Regions from separate parts of the Homo sapiens genome. Here region 1 is linked to region 2. The links are contacts of gene promoters, found by promoter capture Hi-C in human tissues and cell types (Jung and others, 2019). All regions are on one chromosome and are shown on one strand. The core of a region is centred on a gene start or on the middle of the fragment in contact, and the rest is flanking DNA. Distances in the headings are between cores, read along the strand shown.

What was found. Contacts are between HindIII fragments. The study calls those that stand out against the background at their distance.
Region 1: a contact is called between a fragment that was not itself captured here and the fragment with the promoter of PSMA1 in region 2, in 1 of the 25 tissues and cell types used here (ovary).

The regions. Positions count from the first base shown.
Region 1 is chr11:14,302,802-14,308,575 of GRCh38, forward strand. The region is part of intron 1 of RRAS2 (RAS related 2); the gene reads right to left. Among named protein-coding and RNA genes, the nearest start is that of RRAS2, 53 kb to the right of the region's middle. The HindIII fragment of the contact is 7,740 bases long and covers 115-5,774 here.
Region 2 is chr11:14,515,757-14,521,722 of GRCh38, forward strand. PSMA1 (proteasome 20S subunit alpha 1) reads right to left here and starts at 4,630. Exons shown (of 10, transcript NM_002786.4): 1 at 4,541-4,630; 2 at 3,241-3,285; 3 at 2,124-2,225; 4 at 1,886-1,989. The coding sequence starts at 4,543. RefSeq lists enhancers at 4,423-5,037, 4,572-4,761. The HindIII fragment of the contact is 15,381 bases long and covers 1,665-5,966 here.

The sequences.
Region 1 (5,774 bases), core at 2,735-5,234, 210 kb before region 2:
TGCCTAGGGAGGCAGCAGAATTGAGGGAGTCTGAGATGTAAGTCAAATAGACCCGGACACAGTTCTATCAGTTTGCCAGCTGTGGGAAACTAGAGTAGCTCACTTAACCTGTTTGAACCTCAGTTTCCTTGTCTATGAAATGAAAATCACACCAACTTTGCAGGATTGTTGTGAAAAGTTAAAAATACTCTATGTCTATGTAGAGTACAAAGCCCAACAGATGACACACAGTAGGCCCTTAATAAATTATAGCTGATAAAGCCCAAATCACATCTTGCTTTCTTTGCAATGCTTTCAACACTCCAACCAGAAAACAATCTCAATATTCTCTTACCCTTAAAGTGACAACAGTTTGGATTTTTCTCAACTTCTGTCTTATTAGTAATAAGTTGTGATTTGGAAAATACATATACCAAGCTTAATGTATACTATATAATTGCTACTTACAATTTCCTTTTACAATTGCTTATCCTTTCATGTATGTGTCTAAGTGAATGTATGAATAACTGATATACTGAGTTAAACTCAATGGGTATAAGCATAAAACTTTCCCTCCAAGCCCCTCTGTGGGAAAGTTTTTCCTTGTTCCTGAATGAAATCTAAGGCAAGTCTCATAATTTTTTAAAATCATTCTTTGACTATAAATATATTTAGGCCAAACACAACAGTTCATGCCTGTAATCCCAGCCCTTTGGGAGGCAGAGGCAGGAGGACTGCTTGAGCCCAGGAGTTTGAGACCGGCCTCAGCGACAGAGAGAGACCCCCATCTCCACAAAAAGGGGGGAAAAAAGTTTAAATATCCTTCAGCCCCAAGAACACCATAGTTTCAATAACTGTCTTAACTGCAGTAATCAATACTCATCTAAATTAAAGCTTCTCCCCTTCCTTGGTGGAGCTGAGAAGTCTAGTTGGGCTGGGGGATGTGAGGGGTCCTGTCATCATCTCTCTCTCCCTGCTCTGCATCTCTTCTACCCACAACAAGGCTGTCTCTGGCTCCTTCAGAGTGGGAACTGAAGCAGTGGGAAAAGCTATGGGGGTGTCAAAAGGCCACACCAATTAAGTGTGATGTTCATACCAACTTTTTCATGAGGGCCCTCCATACTCAATTCCCAGAACTTAAGTGAGACCTGGCCATTTACAACTCCAACCCTCCACCTCTGGGGTTTCCATGGGTACCTTCCTCCTGGTTCATGTCACCTTCTAGGTGGCCGAGCACAGTGTCCCTTTCTAGATGGCTTTAAGCTGGTTTCACCCAGCAGCCTGAGGAAACACTAACGTCTTTCTAAGTACAAAGTGCTAACATACAGCCCTCTCTGTGCTCTGCTGCCTCAGGGCTACTGATCCATAGATTTGTATACTAAACCTTTCATTCCCCAAACTCGAGGGGATACATGTCAAATTCTCAGAATGACTCCATTGGAGCCTCCCTCATCATTTGGCTTAAATGAAAGGGGCTTAAGGAGAAGCATCTTTCTCCTCTCCTCCACTACGTGTGGAAGCAGGAAAGGACACCAAACATACAACATACTAATAGCTCTTTCCAAAAACATTGTCTTAGAACCCTTAATAATCTCAACACTTTTATTCCCTAGAGGTAGGTATGGGCTACATGTGCAAAACCAGTTTAAGGCTACCCACTATGCAAGTTCTTGGAATATGAGGATAACTTGGCACCTACTGTTTTATTCTGTCTTTTGGGTTTCAAAAGAAGCTAAAATGAATTAGAGTTCCAGTTAAAATTGTGTTATATGTATGTCCCAGGACATATAAAACTCGATTTACATGCTCAAGGTTTTTAAAACTTTCCTGAAGCTAAGTAATATACTTGCACACAGATCTCAAAGTAGGGGAGGACTGCAGTGGGGAAAGAAGAATTAATTTCCCCAAGCACAATAAGGACCTAGTTAGCCATTGGTAGCCTCCATTTTCTAAAACAAGAGCAGAGCAAATTCCTCTGGTAACACTAGAGAAGACTGCAGCAACTTCAGGCAGCTGTGAGCCAGAGCTGGGCTCCTCCTTGTGTCACTTTTTAGCAGCAGCTGTCATGTCACAGAGAACCTTTGTTCCCTGCAACATCCTCCCTTATTTTTTTTGTCAAATGTTTCCAATATGCTTGATATTCCTTCACTGAAGTATAGCTTTTGACTGAAATTAGTATTTCATTTAATCTAACATGTACAATTATATATGTCTATAATTTAATCCCCAGAACTCTAATGCAGAATAATAAAAGCTACACTAAATCCAGTAATCCTTTTAGTTCCTTTTTAACAAAATTTAGTGAGGTCTTCAGTGTTGCCAGTTGTCTCAGACTGCCTAAAGCAACCATGTGCCTTCATTTGCCTTCCATACATTTTCAGCTAATATATATGTATTACCTCACATATAGTATTTAGTTGCAAATGAATGGGCCTGGTATGTGCCAGCAGAAAGTACAGTACAAAGTCAGCTTACAAACTGGTTCTATGACAAAAGTCTGTTTATAAGTTATTTGGAGTTTTTTCCTAAATTGCAGGTATATTCGGAGGCCAAACCACAAAAGCTACTACTGGATATGGCCCTGCCAGTATCAGCCCCAAGTTCCAACCTCCAAAGCACGGTAATTTTTCCTAAGAAGAAATGGGAAGAGAATTTCTTTTCCTTTTCCAGAGGACAGAGCCAGGCCTAAACAAAACTTGTATAGAGGGAAAGCTTGTCTTTGGGGTACCACTTGTATACCCCAGCCTTCTCAGCCTGACCTAACTCCCCACTCCAATAGCTTTCCCTGGGTTTAGCCTTCTTCTGAAAACATTCTAAGTACAAAAACACTGTATCTCTCTTCCCACTGTCCTCAAATTAAAACCCTCAAGAGATATTCCTTGAATTCCCAAATTAAAACCCACAGACACATTCCCACTAGCAGTGTTTGGGGGTTCCAATTTTTCAATATCCTCACCTAGACCTGTTATTAAACTCAGTCTTGGCCGTGCGCGATGGCTCACACCTGTAATCCCAATACTTTGGAAGGCTAAGGCAAGAGGATCACTTGAGCCCAGGAATTCGAGACCAGCTGGGCAACACAGTGAGACCCCCATCTCTACAAAATATTTAAAAATTAGTCAGATGTGGTGGTGCGTAACTGTAGTCCCAGCTATGTGAGAGGCTGAGGTAGGAGGATCACTTGAGCCCAGGAGTTAGAGGCTGCAGTGAGCTGCGACCGCACCACTGCATTCCAACCTGGGCTACAGACTGAGATCCTATCCCCCACCGCCGCCCCCACCCCAACAAAAAAAGAATTTTTTTTTTTACAACAGACACCCTACGGATGTAAAATAGTCTCTCACTGCAGTTTTAATGTGCATTTCCCTAGTGGGATGTTGAGTACCTTTTTGTGTGCTTATTGGCCATTTGTATATCTTCTTTGCAGAAATGGCTACTCAAATCGTTGCCCCTTATTAAATTTTATCTTATCATTGAATGTAAGAGTACTATATTCTGGATATAAATCCCTTATCAGAAATATGATTTACAAATATTTTTTCAATGGTTTTCATTCATTCCTTCATTTATAGAGATGTGATCCCACTATGTTGTCCAGGCTGGTGTCGAACTCTAGGCTTAAGGGATCCTGCCATCTCAGCCTCCTGAGTAGCTGGGACTACAGGCATGCATCACTGTGCCCAGATGATTTGCAAATATTTTCTCTCATAGCCCCCTTCTTATAAAGCCTTCCTGCCATAAGTGAGTACATAGTTCCTAAATCTCAACTGTGGGGCGAAGTCTTATTACCCACCAACAACTCTCCACAATTCCAATTCCACATACCCAGGATTTTGGGCAATACCTGCTCCTGAGCCATCAATCAGTTGTACTAGCCTCCCACTAGGTGGCTGTTCTACTGGGCTGACTGCTGATCTAGAATGAAACTTCCCTCACTGTAACTATCCCTCTAACACCCCATTCCCTACCCTGAGCTTTTCCTATCACACTGAGCTTCAGCCTATACCATGCCCTAGCATAGTTCACTTGTCCCAGTATGTGAATTTACCCTTTTTCATCAAATCTAAGATGACACTGATTGTAAGACCATCATTATTTTATGTGCCAAGATAAAAAAAAAAAAAAAAAGGCCGGGCGCAGTGGCTCACGCTTATAATCCTAGTACTTTGGAAGGCCAAGGTGGGTGGATCACTTGAGGTCAGGAGTTCAAGACCAGCCTGGGAAACATGGTGAAACCCAGTGTCTACCCAAAATACAAAAATTAGCAGGGCATGATGGCACATGCCTGTGGTCCTAGCTATGTGGGAAGTTGAAGTGGGAGGATCATGGGAGCTCGGGAAGTCAAGGCTGCAGTGAGCAGTGATTGTGCCACTGCACTCCAGCCTGGGTAACAGAGGAGACCCTGCCCCCTCCCCCAAACCAAAAAAAACAAAAAAAAACAAAAAACAACAACAACAAAAAAAAAGCAGAAAAAGGAAGAGGGAAAAAAAAACTGCTACCAATACACTCATGACATGCCTTTGACTATGAAGCATCTCAATTTCAGATATACTAAAATGTACGGGGGGAAATGTGATGAAATACAATAGTTCAAGACAACCGTATTGGTAAGGCTAGTTTTTGAGACAGAATATCTCATTTTGTCGCCCAGGCTGGAGAGCAGTGGTGCAATCTCGGCTCAATGCAACCTCCGTCTCTCCCTGGTTCAAGTGATTCTCCTGCCTCAGCCTCCCGAGAAGCTGGGATAACAGCGCCCACCATTTTACAGATGAGACCATTGAGGCTCAGCAGTTAAATAACCTGCCAAAGGTCACAAAGTGGAACTGGGATTCCAATCAGGTCTAACTCCAATGCAATACTCCTTCCATTATACTTTCTTTAACCTGCCATACTAACATAGCACATAGCCTGCGACAGTTTAAAAAAAAAAATCCTGGTACCCCTTAAAATAAGTGATTCATTATTTTTTTAAATTATAAACTGCTACTGCCAAATAGAAAAGTAAAGTCGTTTCATTAAAAATGGAAACGCCCCATTTGTAAGTTACGAGTAAAGGTGTAAGTAGGTCATTTTTTTTTAAATACACAAAGATACTGTTTGACCCAGCAATTTCAATTCCAGAAACTTATCCTGCCGATAGGTCTGCACATATAAGAAATGATATGTACAAGGTTGTTCATAGTGAAATGTCTTTAAAAGACTGGAAACACAATGTGCTTCAGCAAGGACAATGTCATTCAGCAAATGCCTGGTTAAATTACGAAAGGTTCATTCAATATGAATATAACCATTAAAAAAAGGAATGACTTCATGCATTAATATACAGCAATCTGCAAGATATGTTGTTAAATACCCACAGTTTATGTATTTGCTTTATGTGCACAAAATATCTCTGGAAAGATACACAAGAAACTGATTAACTTTACCTGTGGGTTTAACTGGGTTGCTAGGAGATATGGATGGAAGGAAAACAATTCTTGTAGCTTTCAAATTTGAAATACATGAATGAAAGAAGGAACCCAAGAGTTTCGAAAGACCTAGACAGATTAAACATAAACTCTTTAGTAATAAAAGCTAGATTCTAGTCCCAGCTATACAAACAACTAGCTCAGTGCTCCTAGATGAGTAAATCTCTTAAACCTCTTTCCTGGCTCTCACCTATAAATGAGGGGTTTGCCCTTCATGACCTCTTTAAGACTCTTTCCAGCTATATAATTTTATTATGACACGTTTAGCTCCTACAATATGCCAAATATAATTTATAGGTGCTATCGAGGACTTCCTTGTTTTAAATT
Region 2 (5,966 bases), core at 3,380-5,879:
TTGGCCAGGCTGGTCTTGAACTCCGGACCTCAGGTGATCCACCCGCTTCAGCCTCCCAGAGTGCTGGGATTACAGGCATGAGACACCATGCTCAGCCTGAAATTCTTAAACCATAGCATTACTATTTACACTGTTTTTGCTGCTGCTGTTGTTTTAAGAATAGGGTCTCACTCGGCTAGGTGCTGTGGCTCACGCCTGTAATCCCAGCACTTTGGGAGGCCGAGGCAGGTGGATCACGAGGTCAGGAGCTCTAGACCAGCCTGGCCAATATGGTGAAACCTCGTCTCTACTAAAAATGCAAAAATTAGCCGGGTGTGGTGGCACATGCTTGTAGTCCCAGCTACTCGGGAGGCTGAGGCAGAAGAATTCCTTGAACTCTGGAGGCGGAGGTTGCAGTGAGCCGAGATCATACCACTGCACTCTAGCCTGGGCGACAGCGCGAGACTCCGTCTCAAAAAAAAAAAAAAGAATAGGGTCTCACTCTGTTGCCTACGCTAGAGTACAGTGGCACTATCATAGCTCACTGCAACCTTGAAATCCTAGGCTCAAGCAATCCTCCCACCTCAGCCTTTTGAGTAGCTAGGACAACAGGTGTGTGCCACCACACCCAGCTAAGTTTTAAAATTTTTTGTAGAGATGGGGATTCACTATGTTGCCCTGGTCTCAAATTCTTGACCTTAAGCTTCTCAAAGAGCTAGAATTATAGGTAGGAGCCACTGTGCCAGGCCCACCCTTATAATTTATATTCTTTCTTTCCTAATCAAATCACAAATTTACAAGATTAGTTTTAGCTAACTACCTGCCATCCACAACACACATACTCACATAATACCTGAAAGGCTCTGTGTTAGTGGTTTACAGTAGGCAATTTAAAATATTTAAAAATAGGCTGGGTGCAGTGGCTCACACCTATAATCCCAGCACTTTGGGAGGCTGAGGTGGGCAGATTACCTGAGGTCAGGAGTTCAAGACTAGCCTGGCCAACATGGCGAAACCCCGTCTCTACTAAAAATACAAAAATTAGCCAGGCGTGGTGGCGGGTGCCTGTAATCCCAGCTACTCGGGAGGCTGAGGCAGGAGAATCGCTTGAACCTGGGAGGTAGAGGTTGCAGTGAGCTGAGATCACACCACTGCACTCCAGCCTGGGTGAGAGTGAGACTCCATCTCAAAAAAATAAATAAATAACATTTAAAAATAGCCTTGATAAAGAAAACACTGGAAAAAATTCAGTGTTTAGGTATTTAGCCAAATCTCAGATACTAAGTGGTGAAGGTGAGAACTCAATATGTGCAATTTCAAAGCCCTATCTCTTCATTTATGTATTGCCTTTTAACCATAAATAATCTGTCTCTTCTAGACTCTCACAGAAATTTTTCTGTTATATTATAGATAAACTACATTTGAGTTTATAGATAAACTTGCCTTCAAGTTCCCTTAAGACAAGATCCATGTCTGAGTCACTTATGTATACCCTGCAGTATCCAGTATTGAGCATTGCAAAAAATAAATGTCTAATAAATACTGATGTATTGAAGAAAACAAGCACAAAGAAAACAAGTGTGGTTCAGCTTGTCCTTAGAAACCAGACAAAAGTATCACGTTCTTCTTAGACATAACAGGGTCTCAAACGATATACATTGTATTAACAAACATCACATTACTCAGTGACTTCTGAAAAGTGCTAATGTTTAATCTTATTAGTTACTCCTACAGGGATCAAAAAATGGAAAATTTAATAACAAACTCAAAACCACCAAGGTATTCATAATCTTAATTTACAAGAACTTTGGCAGACAACTTCCTAAAATACCTTATCTGGATCTTTTTGAGAAAACTAATCAATTATGAAACAAAAAGGATGTTTATTTTTCATGATTATACTTACCATAACAGTCTAGCATCAGCAGTAAGCCCCGCAATTGAGATACCAATATGGTTGTCAACATGGAGAATTTTTTTCTGATGAGCTGCAAGCTCTGATTGCGCCCTCTAAATAGAGACATTATAAGATGTAAAAAAAAAAAAAAAAGAGACAAATGTAAAAATAAGTTTACAACCTTATTTTCTATGGTGAAATTTACATTGTTTTCTACAGAGGAAGACATATTTATTACTGTACTTACTTTCAATGCAACCAAAACTGCATGAGTTTTTGATTTCAGACCAACTGTGGCTGAACCTTGTTTAACAGCTTCCATTGCATATTCAATTTGATGAATCCTGCCCTAAAGAAAAAAAAAACAAAAAACACACATCTTAGAAGATCTTTTATAAATTAAAAATTAGGGTTTTCAAATATCAGGTGAGCACAGTTAAATCTCAACTGATTTTTTTTTTAATCAAGAGACCTTTTTTTTTTTTTGAGACAGGTTCTCACTCTGTCACCCAGGCTGGAGTGCAGTGGCACAATCTTCAGCTCAGTACAACCTCTGCCTCCTAGGCTCAAGCAGTCCTCTCACCTCACTGTCCACAGTAGCTGGGACTATAGGCAAGCACCACCACGCCCAGCTAATTTTTGTATTTCTTGTAGAGTCCGGGTTTCATGTTGTTCAGGGTGGTCTTGAACTCCAAGACTCAAGCAATCTACCTTCCTTGGCCTCCCAAAGTGCTGGGATTACAGGCATGAGCCACTGCACCCGGCTGAAAGCTTCTTTTAAAATAAATTTTCTTGTGTATATTTAACGTATGCAACATGATGTTATAAGATACACATATATAGTAGGGTCACTATCGCAGAATGAACACATCCGTTGTCTCACATAGTTACCCATTTTCCTCTGCTGTGGCAAGGGCTATAAACTACTCATTTAACAAAAATCTTGAATACAAAACACTACCTGCATTATTAACTGTAGTCTTCATGTTGTACATTAGATCTTTCCACTTGCTCAACCTACATATTTGCTACTTTGTATCTCCTCTTTTTTCCTCCCCACTGCCACCCCCTACCCTGGTAACCACTGTTTTACTCTCTCTATATATATATTTGCCCTTTTAAACAAAAGATTCCACATATAAGTGAGAGCATGAAACATTTTTCTTTCTGTTTCTGGCTTATTTCACTTAACATAATGTCCTCTAGGTCCATCAGGAAACCTATTTTAATTATAAATGCAACTTCCAAGAACGTCTAAAATAATTATATTCCATTTTCCCCAAGCCTACGCTCTCACAAGTTTCTAAATATATTGCAGCCACAAAAAGCCACTTCACAGAAAAGGTTTAAAAACATTATTTTACCTGGGGGCTCCAAACAGTGACATCATTGTCATACTGATTTCGAAACTAAAAGTAAAAGAAAAAAATACCTGTTAATAGAAGAACATTTCAAATCCCAACTCTTAACATTCATTAAGAAATATGCTTGTATTTCCATTCAATGTTAAGGCACTCTGTTCATGCAGTCTTACTGGAAGATTACTACTGTACTCAGATGTAAGCCAATTCTACATTTACCATAAACTCGTGGGAGAGGGAGAAGCAGATCTAAATGGGTCCTATTTTTCCAAACTCTTATTCTAACACCCTCCATATCAACCCCTTTAGGCTCAATTACTAAAGTTCACAATCAACTTTCTTGCCTATTTTTGCTTATGCTGCTCCCTTTTATTGGGCCCTAATAAATGGTTAAAAGTCTTCCTTTTCTTTAAGGTAGCTTAAATGTCGATTTCTTGAAGTCTTCTCCTTTTCTTCCCAAATCCCCCTAACATATACTCCCACAGCTCTTTATCTAAACGTCCCTTTCTGTTTTTATGATTAGGGACATGTATGACTTATTTTTTAATGTTCACTGTAGTTATGCCTGTACAAGTGCTGTCTGTATATTCACATTGAATGAACAAAAATGTCCTCACAAAGTTAGAGGTGGACACAAATAGCTGCAGCGATAGAACCATTACGGCTATTACGACTATTATAATAATAGTCATGGGAGTGAGATTGAGTGCTAGAATGGCAGACAGAACTGGAAACCCAGAACCCTATATTGTAACCCTGATTCCATCACTTCCCCTCTCAGCCTCGGCTTACTCATCCGCAACTAGGTGACTGGACAAAATGATTGAAAAGGGCCTCTTCTAATCGAAGTCTAGGCGAGAGATAAATAGACGGACCCACCAGGAAAACGGACGCTGTCCAGGAACACAAACCTGGGGGTCAAGTCCGCACTGGTGGTACAGGTAGGCCTCCAAGTCAAGTCTCTGTCTTCTCCTCTCCCATACACAGCACTAGGAGCTATTCTGGACCGCTCAGAATCTACTCCACTGAAGGAACCTGAGGGGCGAACTCATCTAGCTGACCGAGGAGGAAGTGTCGGAGGCTCCCCGGGAAGCGAAAGCGGTGGAAAGGCCGCACTGGCTACCGATAACCCCTAGCCCGGCCAGGCCGGAGATGCTGAATCACTGCCGGAGCCCGGCCGTCTGCCGAGGCTCTCATACCTCGTGGCACCGGGCGACGCTAAGGATGACAGGAGAGGTGGCTCGTCATCCCCCAGTCACCAGAGCTCTGCCCTAAACCTTCCAGAGATCGGGATTCAACGTACCATGGTGGCGGCGCGGGCCTGGTTGCGGCCTCCAGCAAAACTGAGAATCAAGGAGGTGCTGCCGAAAGTATCGCTCAGCGATCTACAGAGAAGTCTGCGGGAGTTTGACGGCGGCGGCGCAGGGTAGCGCAGTCTATTCCAGAGATATCGATAGGCTTGCAACACTTCCCCCTCCTTAAAACTTTCCGACCGCTCGGCGGCGGGCGGAGCCTCGGAAGATCTAGGAACTGAGACTGGCGGGAAAACCTGGCTGGGAGTGCCGGCGGCTGAGAGCTGCGGGGCAGCCCCTGTCACGTAGCCCTTCTAGGTTCCTGTGTATGGCGGATTCCCTCCAGTTTCTCCCGCTGGCGGGCTGCATCTAAAGTCGTCCGAGTCAACAGCCGTGACTCTGGGTGATACTAGCTCTCATTAACCGTCCACAGATTTGGGGTGTTATGTGACTGAAAGGAACGAGGCTGCAGGAAAGCCACAAGATAACGATCCGTTTCTGTGTGTCAGCTGTATTCTTCCTCGAGTATCTTGTTTGTGTACATGCTTTTATTTGCATTAAGGTTGGTGCAAAAGTAACTGCGGTTTTTGCCATTTGGCAAAATACTTTGGAATGCTCTTCCTTATTCCCTGGAGATGTTATCTTTCAAGGGTCTGTTGTCGTTAACCCCTCATTGTTATTATGATTGATTTCTTCCACCAGACTTTGAACTCCATGAGGGCGCTAATGTCTTTCTATGCCCCCAAAACCAAGCATGGTACCTGACAGATTAGGCCACTGAGAAAAAATGGACACTTTCTTTCGATTTATCTATTTCGTCTTTTGAGAGCATCTTTCCATAACGAAATAGTCTGACATCCACCGGCTATTTATATTCTTTGTAAAAAAGAGACTGGGTGTGGTGGCTCACGCCTGTAATCCCAGCGCTATTGGAGGCCGAGGGCGGAGGATCGCTTGAACCCAGGAGTTTGAGATCACTATATTATTTTAATACAGTGGGACCTCGTCGCTACAATAATAATAAGAATAAGAATAAGAATAAGAATAATAAAAAAAAAAGGCTGGGCATGTTGGCATGGGCCTGTGGTCCCAGCCACTCGGGAAGCTGATGTGGGAGGATCTCTTGAGCCAGGGAGATCGAGGTTGCAGTGAGCCATGGTCGCGCCGTTGCACTCCAGCCCGCCTGGGCAATAGAGATTCTGTTTCAAAAAAAAAAAAAGCCGGGCGCGGTGGCTCACGCTTGTAATCCCAACACTTTGGAAGGCAGAGGCGGGTGGATCACGAGGTCAGGAGATCGGACCATCCTGGCCAACATGGTAAAACCCCGTCTCTACTAAAAATACAAAAATTAGCCGGGCGTGGTGGCGTGCCTCAGGAGGCTGAGGCAGGAGAATCGCTTGAACCCGGGAGGCGGAGGTTGCAGTGAGCTGAGATCGT